4 separate regions of the Homo sapiens genome follow, and regions 1, 2 and 3 are each linked to region 4. Evidence: promoter capture Hi-C in human tissues and cell types (Jung and others, 2019). All regions are on one chromosome and are shown on one strand. Each heading gives the region's core, a stretch centred on a gene start or on the middle of the fragment in contact. The rest is flanking DNA. Distances are from core to core; before and after follow the strand shown. Region 1 has its middle 17 kb from the start of PPP2CA-DT. Region 2 overlaps PPP2CA (protein phosphatase 2 catalytic subunit alpha). Region 3 overlaps PPP2CA (protein phosphatase 2 catalytic subunit alpha). Region 4 holds the start of CDKN2AIPNL (CDKN2A interacting protein N-terminal like).

Region 1 (3,279 bases), core at 470-2,969, 170 kb before region 4:
AGTGATCCTCCCACCTTGGCCTCCCAAAGTTCTAGAGATTACAGGCCTGAACCACTGTGCCCAGCCTTAATTTATAACAATTCTTCCTTTTTTTTTTATAGCCCTACTTTTTGGTGTTGTTGAAGATAATGGGTCTTTTAGTTATTATTGCTGTGTAACAAGCCACCCCAAACTTAGTGGCATAAAATAACAACCCATTTATTGTGTTTACAGAGTCTATGGGTCAGGAATTCAGAAAGGACCCAGTTGGGGATGGCTTCTCTCAGCTCCAAGCTGTCTAGGGACTCAGCTGGGAAGATTCAGCCTGAGGATGACTTCACAACTGGGAGCTAGAAGCAGCTGAAGTCTTGTTTACTCACGTGTCAGTGGCTGGGCCTGACGCATTCAAAAACTAGGACTGCTGACCACAGCGCCTACACATGGCCTCTCTCTGTGCCTTGGCTTTCTCACAGAATGGCAAGTTAAACTTCTTACATAGCAGCTTAGGTCTACAAATGCAAGTGTTCCAGCCACAAGGTGGATGCTGTATCACTTTCCTTTTTGAGATGGAGTCTTACTCTGTCACTCGGGCTGGAGTGCAGTGGCACCATCTCGGCTCACTGCAACCTCCGCCTCCCAGGTTCAAGTGATTCTTCTGCCTCAGCCTCCCGAGTAGCTGGGATTATAGGCATGCACCACCACGCCCAGCTAATTTTTTGTATTTTTAGTAGAGACAGGGTTTCACCATGTTGGCCAGGCTGGTCTCGAACTCCTGACCTCAGGTGATCCACCCACCTCGACCTCCCAAAGTGCTGGGATTACAGGTGTGAGCCACCGTGCCTGGCTGCTGTATCACTTTTTATAACCTAACCTCAGAAATCACAGAGTGTTAGTTTTGCTGTCTTCTGTTGGGTACAAGTCACAAGCTTCCCCAGACTCAAAGAGAGTGGAATCAGACTCTACCTTTAGAGTAGCAAAGTTCCAAAAGAGCACGTAGGGTGGGCAATATTATTGCCCCCATTGGAGATTAGGACCATCAGTTGAGCCTGCCTTTCCTCCACCAGCCAGGAAAGATGTTGCAAACAATGGAAGCCTGGTGGAAGAGAGAAAGGGTGGAGTTTGTTTGCAGGGCCATATCCTACAGTTGTACATACTGTGCCATGAACAGCCAAGGAGACGAGCTGAGATGAATCCAGCTCTACTTGCCACACCTGTGCCTTACTGTGGGACTGCATCTCCAGGATGAAGAAGCACCTTTTCTAATATGCATAGATACCATATAGGCAAGAGGAGTCCTCACATGGATGGTAAAAGGTCATTTAACCTAACTTGAAATTATTGGGTATCTATGGAACACATGCTACTTTAGAGAATACTAGGGCTTGTTTCAGCTTAAGAGGCACACACAAGTAGGCCAAGAAATATCTTAGAGTATCTCAAAAATGATGCTGGGTTGACTCAAATGTTGTTTTAAAATTGTGTAACTTTTTTTTTTTTTTTTTTTTGAGACAGAGTCTTGCTCTGTTGCCCAGGCTGGAGTGCAGTGGCATGATCTTGGCTCACTGCAACCTCCGCCTCCCAGGTTCAAGCGATTCTCCTGTCTCAGCCTCCCAAGTAGCTGGGACTACAGGTGCCTGCCATCACACCCAGCTAATTTTTGTATTTTTAGTAGAGTTGGGGTTTCAACTTTTTGGTCAGACTGGTCTCCAACTCCTGACCTCAGGTGATCCACCTGCCTCGGCCTCCCAATGTGCTGGGATTACAGGCGTAAGCCACCACGCCTGGCCCTAAAATGGTGTAATTTTTAGCACCAGGTACTTTTTATTTATTTATTTTGTTTTAGAGTTAGGGTCTCACTCCGTCACCCAGGCTGGTGTGTAGTGGCACAATCATAGCTCACTGCAGCCTTGAACTCCTGGGCTCGACTGCTCCTCCCACCTCAGGCTCCCAAGTGGCGAGGACTACAGGTGTGTGCCACCATGCCAGGCTAATTTTAAAATTTTTGTAGTGACATTGTGTTACCCAGGCTGGTCTTGAACTCCTGGGCTCAAGCAATCCTCCTTCCTCAGCCTCCCAAAGTGCTGGGATTACAGGCTTGAGCCACCATGCCTGGCTCCACCAGGTACTTTTTGATTGCATTGGTCTAGAATGTTCTAGACCTATCTTTGAAGAAGCTGAGGCACTGTATCTCAATGCCTGAGGGACTAGCCCTATCCACATATTGCCAGCCTTGGCTCGATGCAAAAAGTGGGCACAGGATTTCTAGGAAACCAGCCCAAACAGAATTAGGGGTTTTCTTTTATTCTTTGTGGTGCTTATTCCTCATTAACATAGCTTTTGCATTTTAGTTAGATCCCCAAGAAAGTACATGGTTTCATTTCTGTTTATGGGCATCAGGAAACTTTAAAAAACTACAGATAAAACGAGGTAACTTTCAAATATTTTAAAGAGCTGGAAAAGCCAGCACAGTGGCGTTCAGCTAGTAGTGCTAGCTACTGAGGAGGCTGAAACGGGGGGATCACTTGAGCCCAGGAGTTTGAGACTGTAGTGTGCAATGATTGTGCCTGTGAATAGCCACTGCATTCGAGCTTGGGCAACATAGTGAGACCTGTGTCTCTTAAAAAAAAAAAAAAAGAGCAAGATAGCAAAAGAGCAAGACAGCATCATATATCCCTGAGTTTGATAAAGGTCAGCGTGTTATAAGACAGCTCACAGAATCCAGGTGTAAATTTCTGTCAATAAGATTATTAAAAAGCTATGATCATGCTGTTAAAGCCATGCTAGTGGTCAACAGCTGGGTCGAGGAAAACGTCAAATGGCAAGGCCCAGAGCACTTAAGAAAAAAAAGAAATTATTAGGGCTCAGGTATAGAGTATTAAGTTAATCGCACTTTTCAGTTCATGGCTCATTATACTATGATCAGTCCATCCAAAGCCCCTTACTTTTCTTTTATTTTTTTTTTTAGACGGAGTTTTGCTTTTGTCGCCAAGGCTGGAGTGCAATGGTGCAAATATATACATATATATATATATATATATATATATATATATATTTTTTTTTTTTTTGGTTTGTATGTATGCATTCATGTGAAGTGTTGTCATGCCCAGGGTCAGGTTCTGGTCCATGCTGAGGTCCGAAGGCAGTGGGTGGATGGGTGGCAGATAGCTGAAAGAACACTCAGAGGGCTGCAGGCAGATGAAGTATGGTTTTATTCAGCGGCTCTCTTACACCGTCTGTCTCTGTCTTGGCTGCTTGCTCTGGCTCTGCGGCTCCTGCCGCTCCCACACACAGCTGCACAGC
Region 2 (3,134 bases), core at 101-2,600, 200 kb before region 4:
CACTGCACTCCAGCCTATGCAACACAGTAAGACTCTCTCTCAAAACTAACAAAAAAAGGCTAAAAAAAAAATTAAAAGGTTAAGATTTCACTGAAAGCTTTAAGATATATAACTATCTTATTCTTACCAACCAGAACTCTTCTCATTTCTATTACCTTTCAGTTTTTACCCACACAGACCTCTTACTTATAATTGACTGGCATCTCATTTTGTGTCCTAAAGTTTCATACTAACTCGTTTCTACATTATAGTGATTTTTTAAAACTACATAATGCCCTTCTAAATAGACCTATACGTGTACAGTATTATTGCTCATTTGAATTATTTCCTTTCAAAAAGCTTTAATTGTGGGATTACAGGGCAAAATAGCATTAACTTTTTTTGTTTCATATGTACTATAAAACTCAATTATGCCAATTTGTTATACAATAATAAATGAAAGAATATACTCATTCTCAGCTATTTCAGATATACAATGTGGTATCACTAATTTAATTGGCATTTTTCATTTCTGAGTACAAACTTTTTATTCCATGTTTATTTACCATCAGTTATTTCTCCTCTTATACAAGTTGTCCATGAATATTTTTGAACATCTGATCATTAAGAGCTAGATGATGTTCTGAAGTATTTGTATAAACTATTTTAAACTGTTATTTTAAGTAACTTTTTGGCATTTTGTTTCTCTTATTTTTTAAATATATAGCCAGAAATTTTCTATGCCCATTTTTGCTTTGTAATTTTTCTCCTACAATTATTAAGAAAAGTTATCACGTCTTGCCATTTTCTAAGAGTTTTTCATTTTAAAATCTATACTTTAATCCTAAGATTACACGACAACTACTCAAGCTTCTTTTTATATCAGCATCTTAAACTTGCATCGTTAACATTATGACATTAACTTTAAATGTTTAATAATGACCTTGAAGTATTTTGGAATCCTGCATCCAAGAAAAAAAAAATCAATCAATTGGGACCTAGGGCTTGAGAAGTGTCTAATATTTATTTACTTTTTTTTTTTTTTTTTGAGACAAGTTCTTGCTCTGTTCCCCAGGCTTCGAGTGCTGTAGCATGATCACAGCTCATTGCAGTCTAGATCTCCTGGACCCAAGCAATCCTCTTGCCTCAGCCTCACAGAGTAGCTAGAACCACAGGTGTGCCACCACACCCAACTAATTTATTTTTAAAAATTATTCGTAGGGCTGGGTGCAGTGGCTCACGCCTGTAATCCCAGCACTTCGGGAGGCCGAGGCAGGTGGATCACTTGAGGTCAGGAGTTCAAGACCAGCCTGGCCAAAGTGGTGAAACCCCATCTCTACCAAAAAAAAAATACAAAAATATTCTGGGCATGGTAGCCCTCGCCTGTGGTCCCAGCTACTCAGGAGGCTGAGGCAGGAGAATCGCTTGAACCCAGGAGGTGGAGGTTGCAGTGAGCCAAGATCATGCCACTGCACTCCAGCCTGGGTGACAGAGCAAAACTCCATCTCAAAAAATAAAAATAAAAATAAAAATAAAAAAGTAAAAATTTTGTTGTAGAGACAGGGTCTCACTATGCTGCCTAGGCTGGTCTTGAACTCCCGGGCTCAAGATATCCTCCTGCCCTGGCCTCCCAATCTGCTGGGATTATAGGTGTAAGTCACCAGGCCTAGCCTCTAATTCTTTAAAGTCCGGTCACCAATGTTTAATGTATACAGTAACTCCTAAGCAGACTCTCACTCCCTTCACCATTGAAAACAGATAACATTTCCTGAACAAATGCTATCTCAGAGAAAAGATGAGACTGAGATAATAACCCTTATTCTTCAAATCTTAGGACTTGGGTACTCCAACGAAATCAGATTATGCCATTCAACAGCAAGGCCAGCTGAGAGCAGCAAGTGGCTCTGATGGACAACAGAGTACTCTTGCCACTACACTCCAGGGAAAACACCCAAGCACTGTTTTTAAGATAATTTCATCAGATGTCCAGCAAAATATTTTCTTAGTCTCAAAAACAGTTAATCACATAACAGTACCAATTCTGGCACTAAAGTATACCAAGAAATAACTTGCTTCAAAATACGAGTTCCAATATTTGGGGTTAATATTCATTTTTGTTGTTAGCTACATGAAAGGGATCATGATGTAACTAAAAGCATTCTCCTAAAGGTATATTACAAGTGGTTTCGGGTGGGCACGGTGGATCATGCCTGTAATCCCAGCACTTCGGGAGGCCAGGGTGGGTGGATCGCTTGAGGTCAGGAGTTTGAGAACAGCCTGGGCAACATGGCGAAACACCCCCTCCCCTACTAAAAATACAAAAATTAGCTGGGCATGGTGGTGCATGCCTGTAATGCCAGCTACTCAGGAGGCTGAAGCTGGAGAATCACTTGAACCCATGAGGCGGAGGTTGCAGTGGGCTGAGATTGTGCCACTGCATTCCAGCCTGGGCAACAGAGTGAGACTGCCTCAAAAAAAAAAAAAAAAAAAAGTGGTTTCCTTCAAAAGAAGGTAGTCAAACACCGAAGAACCCCAAGGTCTATACTGAGGAAAAAGTGTTTGGATTAATCACAGATCAATGATTTATACTTAACTAAAGAAACCTGTTTTTTGTTTTGTAGAAACGGTGGTCTCACTACATTGCCCAAGCTGGTCTCAAACTCCTAGTCTCGAGTGAGCTTCCAGCCTCCGCCTCCCAAAGCACCAGGATTGTAGGTATGAGCCACCATGCCTAGACAGAAATCAAGTTTCTGTATCATCAATTCTGCCCTTGATGAAAAACGTCAATGCAGGCCTAACCTGTCTTCTCTGTAGCATCAAACTCAAAATCAGACACAAATAACCTCTTTACAATCTTAGTACTAATAATAGTACTATTTGACAAAGGAATCTCCATTTTTGAAAGTAATTTTACTACTAAAAGTCTGATTATTGGCCGGGCGAAGTGGCTCACGCCTGTAATCCCAGCACTTTGGGAGGCCAAGGCAGGCAGATCACCTGAGATCGGGAGTTTGAGGACCAGCCTGACCAACACAGAGAAACCTCATCTCTAATAATACAAAAATTAGCTGGGTGTGGTGGCGCATGCCTGTAATCCCAGCTACCCGGGAGGCTGGGGCAGGAGAATTGCTTGAATCTGGAAGGTGGAGGTGGCG
Region 3 (3,199 bases), core at 216-2,715, 220 kb before region 4:
TCCCATTTTTTTCTAGACAGTAGTACTTGTGCAATTAAATATATATAATAAAAAGTAGAAATAAAATGTACTTATATTCCTAAAACATAAAGCTTTAAATGTAATTGGAAAAAATATAGAAATCACCAGGCATGCCCAAAATAATACATCTACAACCTTCATAAGGCTATTTGCTAAAACAGATGTATACTTGTGAAGGGAAAAAAATCTAAATTAAAAAAGTTTATGAAGACTAGAAATATGTCAAAACAATGTGTGAGGACGAAGGCTTTAATGCAAAATAGCTTTAGCTCACAGAACCAAAATCCATCTGAAAACAAACAAGCCTATTACCAAACTATAGGTTACTAAACTATAGGCCCATTTCTAAGAACACATTTATGGTTGGAAGCAAAGGAATATTTATACTAAACAGGTAAAAGTCACCACTGAAACAGAGAGTCGCACGGTACATTTTAATTCCTTATCAACATCCATGAACCACCACCATGTATCCCAATTTTCTTAAGTATGTACTTAGGAAACAGCAGTGAGGTGTTTTTGTTTTTTGAGATGGAGTTTTGCTCTTTTTGCCCAGGCTGGAGTGCAATGGCACGATCTGGGCTCACTGTAACCTCCTCCTCCTGAGTTCAAGTGATTCTCCTGCCTCAGCCTCCCAAGTAGCTGGGATTACAGGCTCCTGCCACCACACCGGTCAGTTTTGTATTTTTAATAGAGATGGGGTTTCACCACGCTGGCCAGGCTGGTCTCGATCTCCTGACATCAGGTGATCCACCCACCCCGGCCTCCCCAAGTGCTGGGATTACAGGCATGAGCCACCGCGCCTGGCTGTTTTTAACCCTAGATGTAAATTAGAATCACTTGGGAAACTTAAAAAATGTATGCCTGGGCCCTCCTCCAGCAATTTAAATCAGAATCTCTGTAGGCATCAAAGCTGAGAACCACAGAAATAACTATCCTTTTCCTGAGCTAAGTCCTTCTTGAAACTAATCTAATATTGACAAACTTCTATTTAAGAAATACCGACTACAACCAACAAATGTTTAATATGCAGCAAATGAAAAAATCATGTCTAGGATACTCAACCCAAGACATGAGCACATCATGTACAAATTCATTGTAAACTTACAAAATAAGTTTCAAAATTTCTGCAAGCCCTCACTATACAAACTCAGAATCCTCTTTATTTTTGAGACAGGGTCTGGCTCTGTCACCCAGACTGGAGTACAGTGGCACAATCTCAGCCCACTGCAACCTCCATCTCCTGGGCTCAGGCGATCCTCTCACCTCAGCCTCCCAAGTAGCTGGGACTATGGTATGCCACCAAGCCCGGCTGATTTTCATATTTTTTGTAGAGATGGGGTTTTGCCATGTTGGCCAGGCTGCTCTTCAACTCCTGACCTCAAGGGATCCACCCACCCTGGTCTCCCAAAGTGCTGGGATTACAGGCATGAGCCACTGTGCCAGGCCTGTTCTTAGGGAAAGCTTTTTAGGTTTATTAATGAAAATCCTAATGTTACTAATTGAGACATCAGTTAACACCCAACTTAGTGATTCCCATCCAACCATAATTATGTATTTTTCAAGAAAATACATAATTTACTAACACATTTTCCTTACCATAGCCATTTTCAAAAGAAGGTAGGGTACTAACACTTTCCAGTTTAGATGGCCAAAGCCCGGTCAGTCTCTATAATTAAACAATTATTTTAAACCCTAGTTATGCTAAAACCAAGCTATTCTTATCACAAGTCCCATTCTGCTAACCACAAAATTTAGAGAATTTGTACCTGGAAGATACCACCACGTGTCAATTACAATATACGTATTCCTTGGTCAATTCTGATATCACAGGACCGGAAAAAATAGCTGCTTGGTGTCTAGATTGTTTGGGTATTAAAACCACTGCACATGGATAAGCTATTTGTTCAGTCGGAGAGAAAGGGCATAGAGTGACAGAGCAACAAAAAGACACACAGAGAATGTATTTCTTGTGAAAGAAAAGAATGAAATGAAATGAAATGTAGAAACCCTAATGGCCTTTTGCTTTGGAAAATTAACTCCACAAGCCACTAAAAATACTATCAATTAGATCAGAAAAGACATTCGGTATGTATGTGTTCCTCAAGCATTTTAGAAAGGGGATATGCTATAACTTCCCTGTTGGTTCCAGATTCAACACAGCACAAAGCAAGAAAACTTTTATTTACTACACTCACAAGTATGATTAAGTGTTCCTGTTTACTCTGGTAGGTTAAAATATCAAATATTAGTTCCCACAGAAGAACTTTTTTTTAAACATCTAATCCTATTCGAAGGATAAAAGGGGAAAAACTCATTAAATGTTGAACACTGCCACTTTAAGTACCATTTTTGTCTTCGGGTGAATGTACATAAGACTAAATCATGATCCAACAATAGTTTTCTATTTGGTTTCACTAGTATCACTCAAAGAACTTGACACAGGCTAATGCTTTAACACTTTCTTATCTGAGACAAATTTAACTCTAAGAACATATGACTCAACAATGTACAAAGATTTAAGAATTTGCCAATCTGTCAATCATTTTAAAGAGTCCATATAATATACACATAGCAATATAATATTCATAACCAGAAACTGCACTAAGTAAACACATCATTTAGTTTAAGCTCTACCTGAAAACATGCTGTTTTATTAAAACAAAACCCAAAGACTTAAATCTCAAGTTATATGGTTTTACAATTAAGTCTTACTGAAGCAGCACAGATTTCCTTTCTTACAAACAAGTTAATATGCAGGAAGAACCCACAAAGTGCACACCAACAATGTGACAAATTGTAATATGTGAAATACAAATAAATCCTGAAGTTAATCTGAAGAATGTCAAGGAGTTACCAGAGAGGTTATGTAGTGCCCTTGATTTTTATTTTACCTACAAGTCTACAAATTCTAAAATTTACTCAATTGATTTAACTTTTTTAATAAACAGCACCAGTCTTGCCCATTGATACAATTAAAATTTGACCTTCTCAGTTCTTAGTTCACAAGTTTATTATGAAAAACACTGCAGTGCTCTTGTGCAGTCACATCGTCTTACAGGAAGGGGAAAAAACAGTTCTGTTCAAAACAACTCACCAGGTTCTGACAATAACAAAGAACAACATGGGGCTGAGATTTGAGTAGGGAATAAACTGAGTGCAGACAAATCATATAATT
Region 4 (3,267 bases), core at 130-2,629:
GAACAGAGGCACTGTACATCCAGCAACAGATATTCTCAGATACAGGATGAGGACCAAAATATTTTTATTTTTTAAATACATGGAATGTTAGTCTAACAAAAACATTATTTATTTCCCCAATTCTCTGACATTTGCCTAACCATGGAAAACCAGGATTTCCCAGGAGCACCTAGAAGGCAGGGAAAAGGGACGGGTGCCTCTGGCATTGCTTCCCTACGTACTGTTCTAATAAACCCCAATATGTGAAGCAAAACCAAGTGGCTTAGGCCTGCAGGGGCCAAATGACCAGAGTCAGGCAGCCATAATAGGTATAGAAACCAAGATCAAACCAAGTCACCCTATTTTCCTAACACAATTTCAGGAAAATCGAAGCTCTCTAATAGGGAGTCTCAAGATTTGCCACCTTCCTCATGGAGGGGTGAAAGGAATGCCTTATCAGGCACTTCAAAAGCGGGCCTTTGTCCTTTTGGTGCTGCAGCCAGGATGAAGTGGGCTTTGAGACCTTCACAAAAAGGCATCGGCCATTTTCATAAGAGGGAAAGCAGAGAGGTGAAGCTGGTTCCTACTTAGGACCCCGTGGGCTGTGGAGTGAGGAGAAAAAGCCATAGGATACAGATTACATCCTCTCATTAGTGATTAAAATCCATCAATCCTGCCAGAAGCTGCATGGCCCCAGGTATATCACTTCTCTCCCTAAGCTTTTTCATCTGTAAAATGGGGATCTCCGTTTCTCTCTCTGCACGTTTGCCATGTAGGTGACAGGGGCTAACGGACTTCGAATGCATACTGCAAAGGTGATGGTTTGAGCTAATAATAATAGTAATACAAATAACAATAGCAACCTTTGAACCCGCCATGTATTTAGCTCTTCACCCTTTAATTATTACAGCCATCATAACCACCCTTTTACCAGAAGAGAAAACTGAGGCTCAAAGATAAGGATCTTTCCAAGGGGCCTCCAGGGTGGGAATCAGTCTTCGGGCCGACCAATGCGGATGGAGGTTGGGCCCGGGTTCAGTCTGGGGCAGAGGTTCGGGTCAGGGGTGAGCCCTGGGAGAGGCCTTGAGGGTCGGAAGATAGGGGACAGGATCAGCCGGCCGGCAGGGGTCCGCACCTGCAGCCTAGGAAGAGATGGTTGGCCCAGACCATGGAGAGGGAGAGCAGCTGGTCCAGGCGGCCACTGCCGTCGGGCGGGTCGCGGTAGTCGGGCAGGTGGCGCAGGATGAATTCCATGCGGGCCTTCCATTGCTTCTCGCTCTCTGAGTAGGAGCGGAACTGCTCCGCGAAGTCGGCCGCCTGCCGCACCCCCGAAACCAGCTCCTCCACTGCGGCAGCCGCCTCGCCACCGACCATGGTGCCCGCCGCAGCCGAGGACCGGATAGCCCGCCGCCTTCCCGACGCGCACTGCGCCACCGCCTGCCGGCCAGAGGGGCCCCATCAGCGCACGACTGCTCCAGAAGACCAACCTGGAGCGCCCTCGCCCGGAGCGGCGGCCTGCGGGGGCACAGAGCGGCTCCTGGCTCCTCAGACCGCCGCAGCCCGTGGCTCCTGCCCTGGGTCTACCCAGGGCTACAAGGGTCTTTTGCGGTCGACCCTGCGGGGAACCGGTGGGAAAACTGAGGTCCCTAAACACAGATTCGGAGCGCCCTCTTCCAGTTGGCAGCTGGATGCCAGCCAGAGCTATGCTGTGCCCTTGCCCTGAGAGTTTCCCGGGCACCGCCTCATCCTGAGCGACATCAGGGGGCCCGGGTCACGGTCGACTTCCAGGGGTCTCCACAGCCACGAAGGTTGGGGCCCGCCTTCCTGGAGCGAGTAATCCATCCATCCCGTGAATACTTGCCAGGCACATTGCTAGGTGCTGGAGAGGCAATGAGAGCACATTCGGAGCCCTGCTCGCCTGAACTTTACCATGGAGTGGAGGAGTGGACATTAGTGACATAATTGCTCAAGTAAATGGAGAATTTCAGCGTTGACAAGTATTAGTAAAGAGAAGTTCAGCGTGCTACAACCATGAATAAGCAAGGGACCCAATCTAGTCTTGGGGTCAGGGAAGTGATCCTGGAGAAGTGAAGAATGAGCAGTTTTCTGAGTAAAGGGGAGTCGGTCAAAGCAAGAGAGAGCATGGCCTGGTAAGAGAATTGCAAGATAGGGGGTAGGAGGGGTTGGGGGGCGGGGCAGGGCAGGTAGAGAATGGAGAAGATGAAGTTGCAGAGGTCAGCAAGGCCAGTAGGCCAGGCAGGGATCCTGGCTAGATCCCAAGAATGGGGAGCCGCTGAAGGATTTTAACCAGAACAGTGACACCTGTGTTTACAAAAGATGCTGGAAGGAGCCAGAAACAATGTGTCCAGAGGAAATGAGCAAGTTTGGACTTGGTTTTAAATAGAGACAGGGTTTCGCCATGTTGCCCAGGCTGGTCTCGAACTCCTGAGCTCAAGTGATCCGTCTCCCTCAGCCTCCCAAAATGCTGGGATTACAGGTATGAGCCATCGTAACTGGCTGGACCTGAAAGTTTTTATTTAGCTGGCATGACTCTGCTGTCTGTTCGAGTCTCAGGTAGCAGACACACTGAGAGAAAAAAGAGCTTCCTTTTAAGTGGTGAATTTTCCATCCCTGGAAGCATTCAACTACAGTAACTGGGTGTTGGGGCTCAGAAACCAACACCCCAAAATGTATTTTGACATGCTGAACTGATGAAGAAGCCTCAAGGTCTCTGTGACCTCCGCCACCAACACACACTCCTGTCTGTCAATTCTTTGTTCCTCCCAAAGCACAAGATGAAGTTGTTCCCTTATCTGCCTAAATTTAGTCCAGAACGCCAAAGGAAACAATTATCTCTGGTTCCCTCCCTGAGTTTTCATTAAGTGAATTTGTTTTGCAGGAGGAAAGACTGAAGTATGGTCAACACACTAGGACAGACTTTTGTCACAAACCCTTGTCTCCTCTGCAGGCCCAACAGACTTTGTCCCAGGCCATTGCATGTTCTTCAAGCCCATTGAATTACCCTAAAAATCATTTACTACCCATCTAAAATATTCACACTCTGGATGATGGGGTAATCACTCTGTGATTAACTATGCACATTAATAAACTTGTATGTCTTTTCTCTTTTTTTTTTTTTTTTGAGAGCAAATTTCACTCTTTTTGCCCAGGCTGGAGTGCAATGGTGTGATCTCTGCTCACCGCAACTTCTGCCTCCCAGGTTCAAGTGATTCTCCTGCCTCAGCCTCCTGAGTAGCTGGGATTACAGGCACCTGACATCACGCCCGG

The links. The method cuts DNA at HindIII sites, captures the fragments that hold promoters and counts their contacts. A contact is called where the count stands out against the background at its distance.
Region 1: a contact is called between a fragment that was not itself captured here and the fragment with the promoter of CDKN2AIPNL in region 4, in 1 of the 25 tissues and cell types used here (small bowel).
Region 2: a contact is called between a fragment that was not itself captured here and the fragment with the promoter of CDKN2AIPNL in region 4, in 2 of the 25 tissues and cell types used here (hippocampus and small bowel).
Region 3: a fragment that was not itself captured here is called in contact with the fragment with the promoter of CDKN2AIPNL in region 4 in 1 of the 25 tissues and cell types used here (heart right ventricle).

Annotation. Positions count from the first base shown.
Region 1 is chr5:134,241,950-134,245,228 of GRCh38, forward strand. No RefSeq gene overlaps it. Among named protein-coding and RNA genes, the nearest start is that of PPP2CA-DT, 17 kb to the left of the region's middle. The HindIII fragment of the contact is 9,275 bases long and covers 1-3,279 here.
Region 2 is chr5:134,214,088-134,217,221 of GRCh38, forward strand. All of the region lies in intron 1 of PPP2CA (protein phosphatase 2 catalytic subunit alpha), which reads right to left. Among named protein-coding and RNA genes, the nearest start is that of MIR3661, 10 kb to the right of the region's middle. The HindIII fragment of the contact is 5,715 bases long and covers 1-3,134 here.
Region 3 is chr5:134,194,078-134,197,276 of GRCh38, forward strand. PPP2CA (protein phosphatase 2 catalytic subunit alpha) reads right to left here. Exons shown (of 7, transcript NM_002715.4): 7 at 255-3,199. Among named protein-coding and RNA genes, the nearest start is that of SKP1, 19 kb to the left of the region's middle. The HindIII fragment of the contact is 4,633 bases long and covers 1-3,199 here.
Region 4 is chr5:134,410,502-134,413,768 of GRCh38, forward strand. It overlaps CDKN2AIPNL (CDKN2A interacting protein N-terminal like), which reads right to left and starts at 1,380. Exons shown (of 3, transcript NM_080656.3): 1 at 1,115-1,380. The coding sequence starts at 1,353. RefSeq lists enhancers at 772-1,510, 1,034-1,523, 1,511-2,248. The HindIII fragment of the contact is 17,979 bases long and covers 1-3,267 here.